Linked DNA regions of Homo sapiens: region 1 is linked to region 2. Evidence: promoter capture Hi-C in human tissues and cell types (Jung and others, 2019). All regions are on one chromosome and are shown on one strand. Each heading gives the region's core, a stretch centred on a gene start or on the middle of the fragment in contact. The rest is flanking DNA. Distances are from core to core; before and after follow the strand shown.

Region 1 (6,160 bases), core at 1,507-4,006, 570 kb after region 2:
TATTTTTAGTAGAGATGGGGTTTCACCATGTTGGCCAGGCTGGTCTCGAACTCTTGACCTCAAGTGATGCATGCATCTGCCTTGGCCTCCCAAAGTGCTGGGATTACAGGCGTGAGCCACCACGCCCGGCCAGGATATTCTTATTTTGAGGCAATTTAGTCTGGTGGTTGATAGCTTAAGTGTCCAGAGTCCAGCAGCCTTTGCTTGAGTCCTGGCTGTACTGCTGCAGGCCTCAGTTTCTTCGCCTGTAAAACAGAGGCGGCATGACTGACGAGAGTATGGGAGGCGCCCGTGTTGCATCAGGATCTTCACCTCTTGTCAGTAGTTCCATTTGTGAGAACGTGCTCATGGGATACCCAAAAACTGTATTAGGGACATTTTTAGACCCATTTCAAAGTTCAGAGAGTCATTCATGCATGCGTCCTTAGGTGCTCATCCCCCACCTTAGTGGTTACGAACACAGGGCCAAACTTGTGTTCTGCCCCCTCTGTCCCGCTCTGCATCCCCCAAATTCCCGATGAAAGCATGCAGACATTCCTGGGGGAGTCCAGCTTTTGCTGAGTCAGGTCCACGTGGTCAGGTGGTAGTCTCGGGCCAGGCCTGTTCCAGGGGGGTGCCTAGCACTGCCAACCCAGTGCCCGTGGGCCAAGAGGTCGTCTACAGCAACTTCCCAGTCACCCAGCGTCCCATGTGCTGTGTATGTCACCTAAGCACATACTAGAAACATATAGGCAGCTAATTAAACTTTATTGCCAGTGAACACTGAAGCTGCATTGCCCGGCATTTTGAAGACGGCTCACTTGCCATCACCCGGTGGTGACAGGGGCCTTTGATTTTTGCCCGTGTCTAGATGGCTTCCCAGTTACGACTCTTCGATCCCCAGCTGAAAGAGAAGCCAGAAGAGGAGTCCTTGGCCGCACCCACGTGGCTGGTTCACCTGCAGCAGGTGGAGCGGCAGATTAAGGTACAGCCTTGGCTTGGGGTGGCACAGAGGCGTCTGGCAAGGTGGCTTCTGTCCCTGTCATTTCCACACTGAAAGTATGTATCTGTAAAGACAGTGTAACTGCAAACGTGTGCCTATGAGAATTCCCTAATTCCCCAGAAAGGGCTTTGAGTGCCTCCTGTCCTGAAGTAGGGACACAGCAAGCGCGGTGGTGGCAGGCGGGCAGCGCTGCAGAGCGGCCACAGGCGGCTTCCACAGGGCAGGTCTTGTTCTCCCTCAGGAGGGGGCTGGAGTATGGCATCAGGATGGAGCCCTCCCGCAGCAGTGTCCTGGCACTCCGAGTTCCGAGATGGAGCAGTTGGACAGGCCAGGACTCAGTCAGCCAGGAGCCCTGGGGATCGCCAACCCTCTGCTGGCGGTGCCTGCACCGAGCCCTGAGCACTCGAGCCCGAGCGTGCGGCTGCTGCCCTCAGGTGAGCCCAGGTGCGCGGCTGCTGCCCTCAGACAAGCCCCTGCTTCCTGTGGGCTGAGCCATGGCCTGCACCCTTGCCTCCTGGAGAACTGCTTTCAGATGTGGACTGTTGGAGGCAGTGTCTCACACCACCTCGGTGGTTGTGGGGCTCCTCGGTCTCCTCCCTCTTCCCTTCATGCTTCCTCCCCTGAGGAGCCCATGGAGGGGAGGCTCATGGCTTTCCATGTCCATAAATATCCATGTGCTGGCGACACTGCCCTGAGCGCCCGCTGCCTGCTCAGCCTCCCTGCTTGTTTCTCCGGGAGCCTCAGCCGCACCGTGTCTGGGCGGCGCCCTCGGCTGTGCCCCTCTGTAACCTGCTTCTCCCAGTCGGCCCCGTCGGTGGAAGGGCCAGCCCAGAGCTCCAGGGAGTCAAGTCCAGATGCCCCCTCCTCTCTCGCGCTTCTCGGCTTCCTTCGTCAGTGAACCTCACCAGCGCGGCCTGCACGCAGGTCCGCATGCCTGGATGAGCACGGGCTCCTTCCTGCTCGCCTCCTGCTTCTTCCCCAGACCCTCCAGACTCTCCATCTCACCTGAGGACAAGCCAGGGTCCTCACGGTGGCCACAGGCCCTCCAAGCTTGGCCCTGAGCCCTCCTGCCCTCGTGCCATGTCCACTCCCACGCTGTGGACCAGCCACACTCCTGATTTGGGCCCACTGCCCACCCTCCCTGCCTGATGTCCAGTCTGCTTCGTCCTCAGACACCGTTACCACTTCCTGGTTGATTGCTGTCCTTAGCGCTTTCTCTTACTCAGTTCATCTGTCCCGACCCCCATGAGGACCCAGCATTTCTTTTGTTGTTGAAGCATCCAGGGCCCAGCATGGTGCTGGTAGGCAGCAGCCCTCTCAGGTTTTATGTTGAGTCGGAAGAATGAAGGAATGAACGAGTGGCCTGTGTGACCCCTGGCCGTGGAGGAGGGGACTCGGGCCTAGCAGAGCTCTGTGCCAGGCGGCCGCCATGGGCTTGCGTGTGGGCCGGGCCCTGGAGCCCGCGTGCCGCTGTGACTGCTCAAGTGCCCCTCCCCTAGAAAAGGAAGCGGATACTCTGCTTTTCTGCAAACCACGGATGGTGCGGTGGGGTGGTGGCTTCAGGCTTTCTGCTCTGTTGGACCTCCCTTATAAAAGAAATGGGGCTGTACAAAATAACTTGTCATAAACACGTCGAGTGTCAGCTCCTTCCAGTAACTCAAGCTACCCTCAGTAACCCCAGACCTCTTCTCCACCGTTCCCATGCAGCTCCGCAGACGCTCCCTGACGGCCCATTGGCCAGTCCTGCCAGAGTGCCGATGTTCCCAGTGCCACTGCCCCCGGGGCCCCTGGAGCCGGGTCCTGGCTGTGTGACCCCAGGGCCTGCACTTGGCTTCCTGGAGCCCTCCGGGCCTGGCCTCCCACCTGGTGTGCCACCTCTGCAGGAAAGGAGACACTTGCTCCAGGAAGCCAGGAGCCCAGACCCAGGTGGGGCTGCAGAGATGCTGTCTCGAGAGCAGAAGCAGCATGGGGTGTGGTGTTTGTGGGGATTGGTGGAAGAGATTGAAGTTATTTGAGCTTGAAACAACTTACATTACTTGTCTTAACGTAGACCAGAAATTCTGGAAGTTACAGACTGGATGGGTTCAGAGTCTCACTACAACAGCAGTGTTAATGCCAGTTCCTTTTGTAACTTGGCTTTTTGTTGTGAAGCTTAAATGGCCATTTGGGGCAGGGCATGGTGGCCATGGGTCTCCTGGGGTCTGTCTTTAGACGGCCCTGCTGGACGCCTGGTGAGATGCACAGGGGCAGGTCATGAACTGTCTGGAACTCGATTTGGTGGATCTTGTCCCTGGTCTGTGCCTATGTCTACATGTGTGTATATGGACAAAGCAAAACATAGGCCTAGTTTTAAAAATGAAAGAGTGTGCACACATGTGGGAAGATGTTCAGCCTTGGTTTCTGCAGATCATGCTGGTGTGGCGGTAGCTGGGTGGGAAGGTGGTGTGCCTGTTGATCTGTGCGCCACACACACGTCCCGCCTTCTCGTGACTGAGATCATAGTTGCTCTCTTTCCCGTTGACAGGGATAGTGCCGCAGGAGGCGCCTGTTGGAAACTCACTTTCCGAGCTAAGCGAAGAAAATTTTGATGGAAAATTTGCTAATCTGGTACTTTGTCACATTTTCTTAAACTGTTTGTTTTCCATAAAGTTCATCGAGTGGGCACCCAGACTCCTTGTTGAGTTGTAAGATGATGGTAGTGAGGACTATGAAATTGTTTCTAAAATTGTTTCTTAAAGTGAAAGTGCTTCTAAATAGCTTTCATCCTTAAAATATGAAGAGTTGGTGAAAACACTGGCAGGGAAAGATGGGGAAGAGAGAATTCAGTAGTGTAAAAACAGTTACTTTAAGTAGAAGAAATACCCAAATATCATGAAATCCCCTTATTAATTTTAATTCTTCCAAAATGGGTACCTTCTCTGATTTCTACATCTCTTTTTCTTTTTTTTTTCTTTTTTTTTTTTTTGAGACAGATTCTTGCTCTGTCGCCCAGGCTTGAGTGCAGTGGTGCGATCTCGGCTCACTGCAACCTCCACCTCCTGGGTTCAAGCAGTTCTGTGCCTCAGCCTCACAAGTAGCTGGGACTACAGGTGTGTGCCACCATGCCCGGCTAGTTTTTGTATTTTTAGTAGAGATGGGGTTTCACCATGTTGGCCAGGCTGGTCTTAAACTCCTGACCTCATGATCTACCCGCCTCAGCCTCCCAAAGTGCTGGGATTACAGGTGTGATCCACCAAGCCTGGCCTTTTTTTTTTTTTTTTTTTTTCCCTAAGACATAGTTTCGCTCTGTCGCCTAGGCTGGAATGCAGTGGCGCCATCTTGGCCACTGCAACCTCCGCCTCCCAGGTTCAAGTGATTCTCCAGCCTCAGCCTCCCAAGTAGCTGGGACTACAGGCATGTGCCACCATGCCTGGCTAATTTTTTGTATTTTTTGGTAGAGACAGGGTTTCGCCATGTTGGCCAGGCTAGTCTCGAACTCCTGACCTCAAGTGATCTGCCTGCCTCAGCCTCCCAAAGTGCTGGGATTAAGGTGTGAACCACTGCACCTGGCCATCTCTTTTTTTTTTTTTTTTTTTTTTTTTTTTTGAGATGGAGTTTCTCTCTGTCGCCCAGCCTGGAGTGCAGTGGTGCGATCTTGGCTCACTGCATCCTCTGCCTCCCAGGTTTAAGCAATTCTCTGCCTCAGCCTCCTGAGTAGCTGGGACTACAGGCGCCCACCACCACACCCAGCTCATTTTTTTTTGTATTTTTAGTAGAGATGGGGTTTCACCATCTTGGCCAGGCTGATCTTGAACTCCTGACCTCATGATCCACCTGCCTCAGCCTCCCAAAGTGCTGGGATTACAGGCATGAGCCACCCCGCCCAGCCCGGCCGTCTCTTTTTCTACAGTAGAATTTCTTTTCTAATTTTTTGATCTCACAAGAGGATGTCCTGGAATTCAGTAGAATTTCTAACATTGTCACTGGTTTTCCTGAAAGTGAGATTTATCTCATTAGACATGTTTGGTATAAATACCTCCTCTGTTTGCTCTACTCCTAACCAGGAGGGATGGTTGCTTTTATACAGACCGCATTCTGGAACCTTCTTTACAGATACCCAGCCCTTCACGGGCATCCCATCAGTAGGCGATTGCTATAGTTTGAACTTGCATTAGGTGTTTTACCCTTTAAAATACTGTGTCCCTGGAAAAGTAAAAATGAGGGTTGAGCTATTAAAAATTGGGACTTGACCCAGGAATAAATATTTTTAAAAATCATTGTATCTTTGAGAACACCCATCGCCCCCCTCTGGCCAGTCTTCCCTCAGTGCATGCTCACACTCCGTTTCTTCCAGCCCGGAATCTCCATCGAACGCCCTCATTTGCATTCTGAGTGCTGAGTGCTCCCAGACGGAGCTGCTTATTAAGTGCGGCTGGCTCTTCTCTAGTCAGGCCAGGTAGAGGCTCTGGGAGGCCCAGTCAGGGGGCTGCTCTCCCCAGCCCCCTTCCTGCCTCCCTCTGGTCACCAGAGTCATCCGGCCTCTCAGTGATGTATTTAGGAAACACGCCTGGGGAATTGCATCCCCCTCTCTCTTTCGGTTCCTGTGAGGAGCCCCAGGAGAGCCTGTTCTGCATTTCCTTGCGACAGACCCCCTCGAGGACGGTGCCAGACTCGGAGGCCCCCCCAGGGTGGGATCGTGCCGACTCGGGTCCCACGCAGCCACCTCTGTCTCTCTCACCCGCTCCCGAAACAAAGAGACCCGGACAGGCAGCCAAGAAAGAAACGAAGGAACCTAAGAAGGTAGTACAGCCTGCCCACGGTGCGCCTGGCGGCCGGGAGGGTTTGGGCAGGAGGCACGCTTCCCAGAGCGCCATCCTCTTAATTCACCACACATGCAAATAGCCTCCTGATACAAACAGCCGAGTGTCTACAGTGCACACGGCATGATGGGTGTCTGTGTATTTGTGCCTTCAGATAATAGGATAATAGCCCACCCAGGTCAGCATGGGGACACAGCCCGGCCCCCAGAGGTCGCCTCTGGCCACTACCTGTCAGACCCACCCGCAAGGGACCAGACGGCAGCCGCTGCTTTGTCACTGTGGTGTGTGCCTGCTGCCGGCTCACAGATCCTTTCTCCCAGCCGTGGACTTTGGGACTGCTTTCAGTGTGGGGCTGGGATCCGTCAGGCCCCAGGAGCCT
Region 2 (5,967 bases), core at 1,479-3,978:
CGGGCCACCTATGAGGCCTTCGTGCCGGCTGACGCCTTCGTGCATGTGGATGACTTTGGCTCAGCCCGAGAGCTGGCGGCTTTCCTCACTGGCATGAATGAGAGCCGATACCAACGCTTCTTTGCCTGGCGTGACAGGCTCCGCGTGCGACTGTTCACCGACTGGCGGGAACGTTTCTGTGCCATCTGTGACCGCTACCCACACCTACCCCGCAGCCAAGTCTATGAGGACCTTGAGGGTTGGTTTCAGGCCTGAGATCCGCTGGCCGGGGGAGGTGGGTGTGGGTGGAAGGGCTGGGTGTCGAAATCAAACCACCAGGCATCCGGCCCTTACCGGCAAGCAGCGGGCTAACGGGAGGCTGGGCACAGAGGTCAGGAAGCAGGGGTGGGGGGTGCAGGTGGGCACTGGAGCATGCAGAGGAGGTGAGAGTGGGAGGGAGGTAACGGGTGCCTGCTGCGGCAGACGGGAGGGGAAAGGCTGCCGAGGACCCTCCCCACCCTGAACAAATCTTGGGTGGGTGAAGGCCTGGCTGGAAGAGGGTGAAAGGCAGGGCCCTTGGGGCTGGGGGGCACCCCAGCCTGAAGTTTGTGGGGGCCAAACCTGGGACCCCGAGCTTCCTCGGTAGCAGAGGCCCTGTGGTCCCCGAGACACAGGCACGGGTCCCTGCCACGTCCATAGTTCTGAGGTCCCTGTGTGTAGGCTGGGGCGGGGCCCAGGAGACCACGGGGAGCAAACCAGCTTGTTCTGGGCTCAGGGAGGGAGGGCGGTGGACAATAAACATCTGAGCAGTGCCTCGTGGGTCTGGCCAGTGTCTCATGGGTCACCTCCGTGCAGGGCCACAGAGCCTGCATCTGCCCTCCCCTGACATGTCGCCCCCACGGCCATGGGGCTGCTTGTTCCCCACGGGGGGTCCTGTCGCCTGACTTCTGGGCCTTTGCTCACCCTCCGCCTGAGAGCCCTCCCTGTGCCGGGCTGCCCACTGGCTACCCCAGTTCCTACAGCCTCCGCCAGACGGCCCCTTATCAGAGAGCCTTCTGTGTCCCCCAAAAGGCCAAGGCGATGAGCCCAGGAGTTCGAGACCAGCCTGGGCAGTGTAGTGAAATCTCATCTCTACCAAAAATACAAGAATTAGCAGGGCGTGGTGGCTCACGCTTGTGGTCTCAGCTACTTGGGATACTGAGGTGAGAGGATGGCTTGAGCCCAGGAGGTTGAAGCTTCAGTGAGCCGTGATCACACCACAGCACTCCAGCCTGGGCAACAGAATGAGACCCTGTCTCAAAACAAAAACCAAAACAGGCCAAGGTTGGGGAAGAGTAGGGAACGGACGTCAGAGGCCTGGCCAGGCTGAAATCGCCCATCTCCCAGGCCCGCAGGCTGGAGGGTGTCTGGGGTGACAGGGTCTGACCTGTGCCTTGTAGCTCCCTCTGGTGGCCAGTGCTGGGGAGGCACTGGGGATGCGGCTGCAGCCAGGGAGCCCCTGTAGTGGACGGTGGAGAGTGGGGCGAGGAGGAGAGAGGCCAACCCACGGGTGGTGCTGACCAGGGCCCCAACAGGCTAAGCCCCCGGGGCTGGGGCACAGGGCTTGTCCCTACCCCAGGTAGGGGTGGGCAGGTTGAGGGCAGGAAGCCCCCCTCACCCATGGCTGTGGCTTGTGGGAAAGACCTGCTGGTAGCTTCCTGCCCTGACCCAGCCCTGTGGACTGAGCAGAGAAAAGCAAGTGCCTTGAGGCTGCGGGCTGGGGTGGGAAGCTGATCCCTCACTCACTAGCCCAGGGTCACCTTCCTGCTGCAAAGGAGCTGGGAGGAGTGGGGAGCTGTGGCCTCGGAGGTCTTCATTCACTTGAGGATGCGCCTTCTATGTGCGCCCTGACACTGGACACCACACAGCGCTACTCCACCCCATTCACAGGGGGGAAACTGAGTCTGGGAAGCGCCGTCAGAGCCACCCATGGGGTCAGCCTGTCCTCTGTCGCTCTCTACAGGCCACGCGGAGGAACTGCCCCACCTCCCGGGGCGCCCCAGCAGGTGCCAAGCCACAGCCGCAGAACCGCCTGATCCCGAACTCCCTGTGCAGAGACCAGACTCGCCCGAATATGGGGAGAAAAACGAGCCGCGTGCAGCAGGGGCCGCCTCGGTCCCCTGCCTGCTCCGCTCACGGCGAGCGTTCCTGGGGCCTCGAGTTTCCCCCCTTCCGCTGGCTGCTCGGAATCGCGGGACGGACCCACCTGGCCGCCCTGCCTCCCTTCCAGGTGGGCACCACCTGGACTCCAAGTGCTGGTTTACAAAGCACACAGGAGACCCTTACGGGGGTGAGCTGGCCCCTCGCCAGCGTCCGCTCGGCGCGCCCCGGGGACAGTGAAGGCTTGGGGCGCCTCTGCAGAGTCGCCAGCGCGGTGGGCGCAGCCGGATGCCTCTGGGAGAAGAGCGCAGCGCCCGAGGGTCCCCCGGCCTACGAAGGCTAAGCCGGGGTCTCGGATTCGATGTGGGCGCGTCGCGTGACGCCCGGCGAGGGGCGGCCCGGAGGCTTCCCGGCGGCGGCGCGCGCAGGGTCTCGGGCCCGGGTCGGTCCCGGGCGCGGCGCGGGCGGCGGGCGCCTCCTGGCGGGCGCGGACGGAGCGCGGCGCCTTTAAGCGGGGGCGGGCGGGGCGCGGGCAGAGTCGCTGTCGCCGCGGCCGCCGGGGCGGAGCCAGCGCGGATCGGGTCCCGGACGCCCGAGCGCCCCGCCCCCGCGCGGGCGATGCCCAGCGGCGCGGCGGGCTGCGGGGCCCGGCGGGGCGCGCAGAGGAGCGGGCCGCGGCGCTGAGGCGGCGGAGCGTGGCCCCGCCATGGGCTTCCTGCACCAGCTGCAGCTGCTGCTCTGGAAGAACGTGACGCTCAAACGCCGGAGCCCGGTGAGCCCACCCCACGCGCCCGCCCTCAGCCCGAGGCCGCGCGCACCGCGGCCAGAGGCGCGCTCCCCGCGCGCACGTGCGGACGGCCGGGCGCGCGCAGACCCCGGCGGGCGCTGGGGGCGGCGCGGGCCCGAGCCCCCTCCCCGCCGGGCCCTGCCCTCGCCTGCCGGCGCTGCGGCCTCCGGGGAGGTGGCTCGGTCGTGTCCAGTCCGGTCCCGCGTCCGCTGACATCGCGGTGCTCGGCTGAGTCACGGCACCCGCGCCCTCTGCAGCGCGCTCGCTGGGGCCGCTGTGGGCGGGGGGCAAGCGGCGCTCAGGACTCTGGCTCGAGGGAGGCCCTGGTTCCCAGGACAGAAGGCAGGCCTGGGGGGCTCCATTCAGCTGCGAGGCTCCATGGTCCTTGGGCCCAGCCTCCCTGGGGTCCCGGAGGAGACCCTGTCCCTTCCCTCCGTCCACCCCTCCCCTGCCCTTGGGCCGCGGCCTGCCATAGAGGTTGGTCCCAGGCATCTCTCCGCCTCCCCTCCTGGCACATCCGTGACCCTTGCTCATGCTCTCGCCACTGGGAATGTCCTTGTGCCAGCCTTGGCCAGCCTGAATCTCTGCACCCATTTGTCCTTTGGGGTCAGTTCTCCCCGAGCCTGATCCACTCTGTTGCCTCCTGGTCCCCCCACCTGCTCTGGGGGCTGGGTCTACTGTTTGGAGCTGTGAACCCCGGCTTTCCCAGCACTGCCTGGGCAGCCAGTGGACCTGAGGGTGCAGGACACATGGCTGTCAGGGACAGAAGTCCTTCGTGGAGCGAGGGGCTTGGGGATATGGGTGTCCTGCCATACCCCCAGCTGGCCAGCTTGGCTCCAGCCTGGGAAGGGAAGGGACACCTCCCAGGCCACAGGCCTGGACCAGCTTAGGTTTCTGAAGGCCCTTGGGATTGTCCAGGCCAGGGCTCAGAGCAGGTGGGGGCCTAAGGCAGACATCCTCTTGCCCAGCCAGGGCCCGGGCGGGACCCCTTGGGCTGCACCAGTCCGTGCCTGTTTATCTTTCAACATGCACTGCAGGAAACCCAGGCTGCAGTCAGCTGGGGTGGCCATCATCACCATGGCTGGCAGAATTCCCCTGGGCACCTGGCCTTGGCGGGGAGCCTGGGTTAGGTACATGCCCTGGCCAGGCACCTGGAGCTGGCTGAGTGGGGTCCCATGGATCAGGCCTGCAGCCCCTGGCATTGAGTCACTGGGGACAGCAGAGCAGGGCCAAGGGAACAGGGATGTGGCATGTGGCATGCATTAGTATTAGTCCCCGGGGGTGGTTGTCAGGAAGGTCCCCACTGGGCTTGGGAGCAGAGGCTGGAATGGTGGCCCCTGTTCCAGTGGGGACAATGCTCAGGGAAGGGAGTGTGGCCTATGAGGGCAGCTGGCAAGCAGGTGGGAGGTGTGCACTGTCCTGACCGCAAGAGTGACTCCCAGCTGCTGGTTTGGGCTGCCCCCCAGGACCTTTTTGGGTCCCCACCCTACAGGGCTCCCAGAGGCCCACTGGGCCACAGTGGAGGTCCTTAGCCCATGGCTGGAGCAGGTGGGGAACTGTTTCCCCCAGGGAGGCTGAGTCCTTGCCAGGCTTGTGATGTGGGGCTGGGGCTGGCTGGACACTGGGCACACTCCTGCTGGGTCCCCACTTTCCTGGGAAGGATCTTGGACATCAGAGCTGGACTCTTGGGGCCAAGCTTGGATGACAGAGGTTTGCCCTGTGTGCCATGCGCCCTGCTGGGGCAGGGGTGCACCCTGGGCAGAGCTCCACCCTGGGCAGAGCTCAGGGTCTGGAGGGTGGGTGCCAAGGACCTCTGTGCTGCTAGCAGGCTCCTCCAAGCTCTTTGCCTCAGTTTCCCTGTCTGTGAGTGTGGCCTATCTCCTCTTAGTTAGCTGGACTTGGGTCTACCCTTGGGCTACAGGCTGCTCTTGGTGCAGGGACAGGGTCACTGTCATGAAGTCACTGGGATGGCAGATGGCAGCGCCACCCTCGGGTCTCACCTGTTCTCCCCCCGACACAGTAGGCGGGAGCTACAGGGAGGGGTCATGCCCAGAGAAGGCATCTAGGCCTCCAGGCGATGTGAAGGCACTGGGCTGGTCTCGAGGGACGGAGGTTGGGCCACCTGGAGGCACCTGTGTGGGGCACCCAGGGCGTGCTAGACCTGTGCTGCCGCCTGTAACCAGATGCTGCTGTGGCGCCCGCCGCCTGCCAGCCAGGACTCTCCTCCTCCTCCCAGTAGCTCGTGCGAGGCCGTTGCTATAGCAATGGGGGAGGCAGCCGGGCCTGTTGCTGCAGTTACAGTGCCCATAGCAGGCCGGGTGTGGGCGGGGCTGGCGCCCCGTGCTGTGACCCCTGCCTCTGACATTGCCTCACTCCTGCAGCCACCCTCGCCCTGGTGCCTGTTGGTGCCCACAGTGCCTTGGCGAACCCTGGGCTCCGTCCTGGCTCAGGGAGCGGGTGGAGGCTGGCACGGGCTGGGGCGGGCATGGGACACCCACAGCATGATGTTCCTGGCCACAAAGCCCTATTGTCCAAGCACAGTAAACACAGCAGCCGCCCCCACCCCAGGGACCGGGGACTCGGCCCGGGCCACACAGCACACTGGGGGCTCTGAAGGGTTTTGGGATGGGGATGAGGACAAAGGATGCCTCCGAGCTGGGTGCTCGCCCTCGGGCTAGGGAGGGCAGGGCCCCTCTGTCCTGTGGGTCTCAGAGAGGGCTGGTCTGCCGAGGGCTCTCTGGAGGGTAGCTGGCTCAAGCTCCTCCTCCTCCCTGAGCTGGGGGCTGGGACACAAGAACCGGTAAAGTCCTTGGTTTTCAGGTGAAGTGAGCAAAGCACCTCTTTCTCACTCCACGCAGGTCCCACTAGGGCTCACCTTGGTGCCCAGCCTGGGTTAGCAGGAGCCGACCTGGGGAAACTGAGCTCCAAGGCCCAAGACTGGCTGCCCCGGGTCAGGAGAGGGGACAGGGCAGAAAGAGGTGCCTTTGGGCCAGGTGTGGTGGCTCACGCCCAGGTGGGCGGATCACGAGGTCAGGAGATCGACACCATCCTGGCTAACACGG

Evidence for each region. Contacts are between HindIII fragments. The study calls those that stand out against the background at their distance.
Region 1: a contact is called between a fragment that was not itself captured here and the fragment with the promoter of ABCA2 in region 2, in 1 of the 25 tissues and cell types used here (spleen).

What each region holds. Positions count from the first base shown.
Region 1 is chr9:136,450,857-136,457,016 of GRCh38, reverse strand. It overlaps SEC16A (SEC16 homolog A, endoplasmic reticulum export factor), which reads left to right. Exons shown (of 32, transcript NM_014866.2): 19 at 851-964; 20 at 1,224-1,416; 21 at 2,690-2,908; 22 at 3,507-3,589; 23 at 5,609-5,761. Among named protein-coding and RNA genes, the nearest start is that of INPP5E, 14 kb to the right of the region's middle. The HindIII fragment of the contact is 5,536 bases long and covers 1-5,524 here.
Region 2 is chr9:137,024,998-137,030,964 of GRCh38, reverse strand. ABCA2 (ATP binding cassette subfamily A member 2) reads left to right here and starts at 2,728. Exons shown (of 49, transcript NM_001606.5): 1 at 2,728-2,890. The coding sequence starts at 2,825. LINC02908 (long intergenic non-protein coding RNA 2908) reads right to left here and starts at 3,501. Exons shown (of 3, transcript NR_171031.1): 1 at 3,054-3,501. FUT7 (fucosyltransferase 7) reads left to right here. Exons shown (of 2, transcript NM_004479.4): 2 at 1-791. The coding sequence ends at 255. RefSeq lists an enhancer at 1,843-2,587 and a silencer at 2,471-2,650. The HindIII fragment of the contact is 11,656 bases long and covers 1-2,908 here.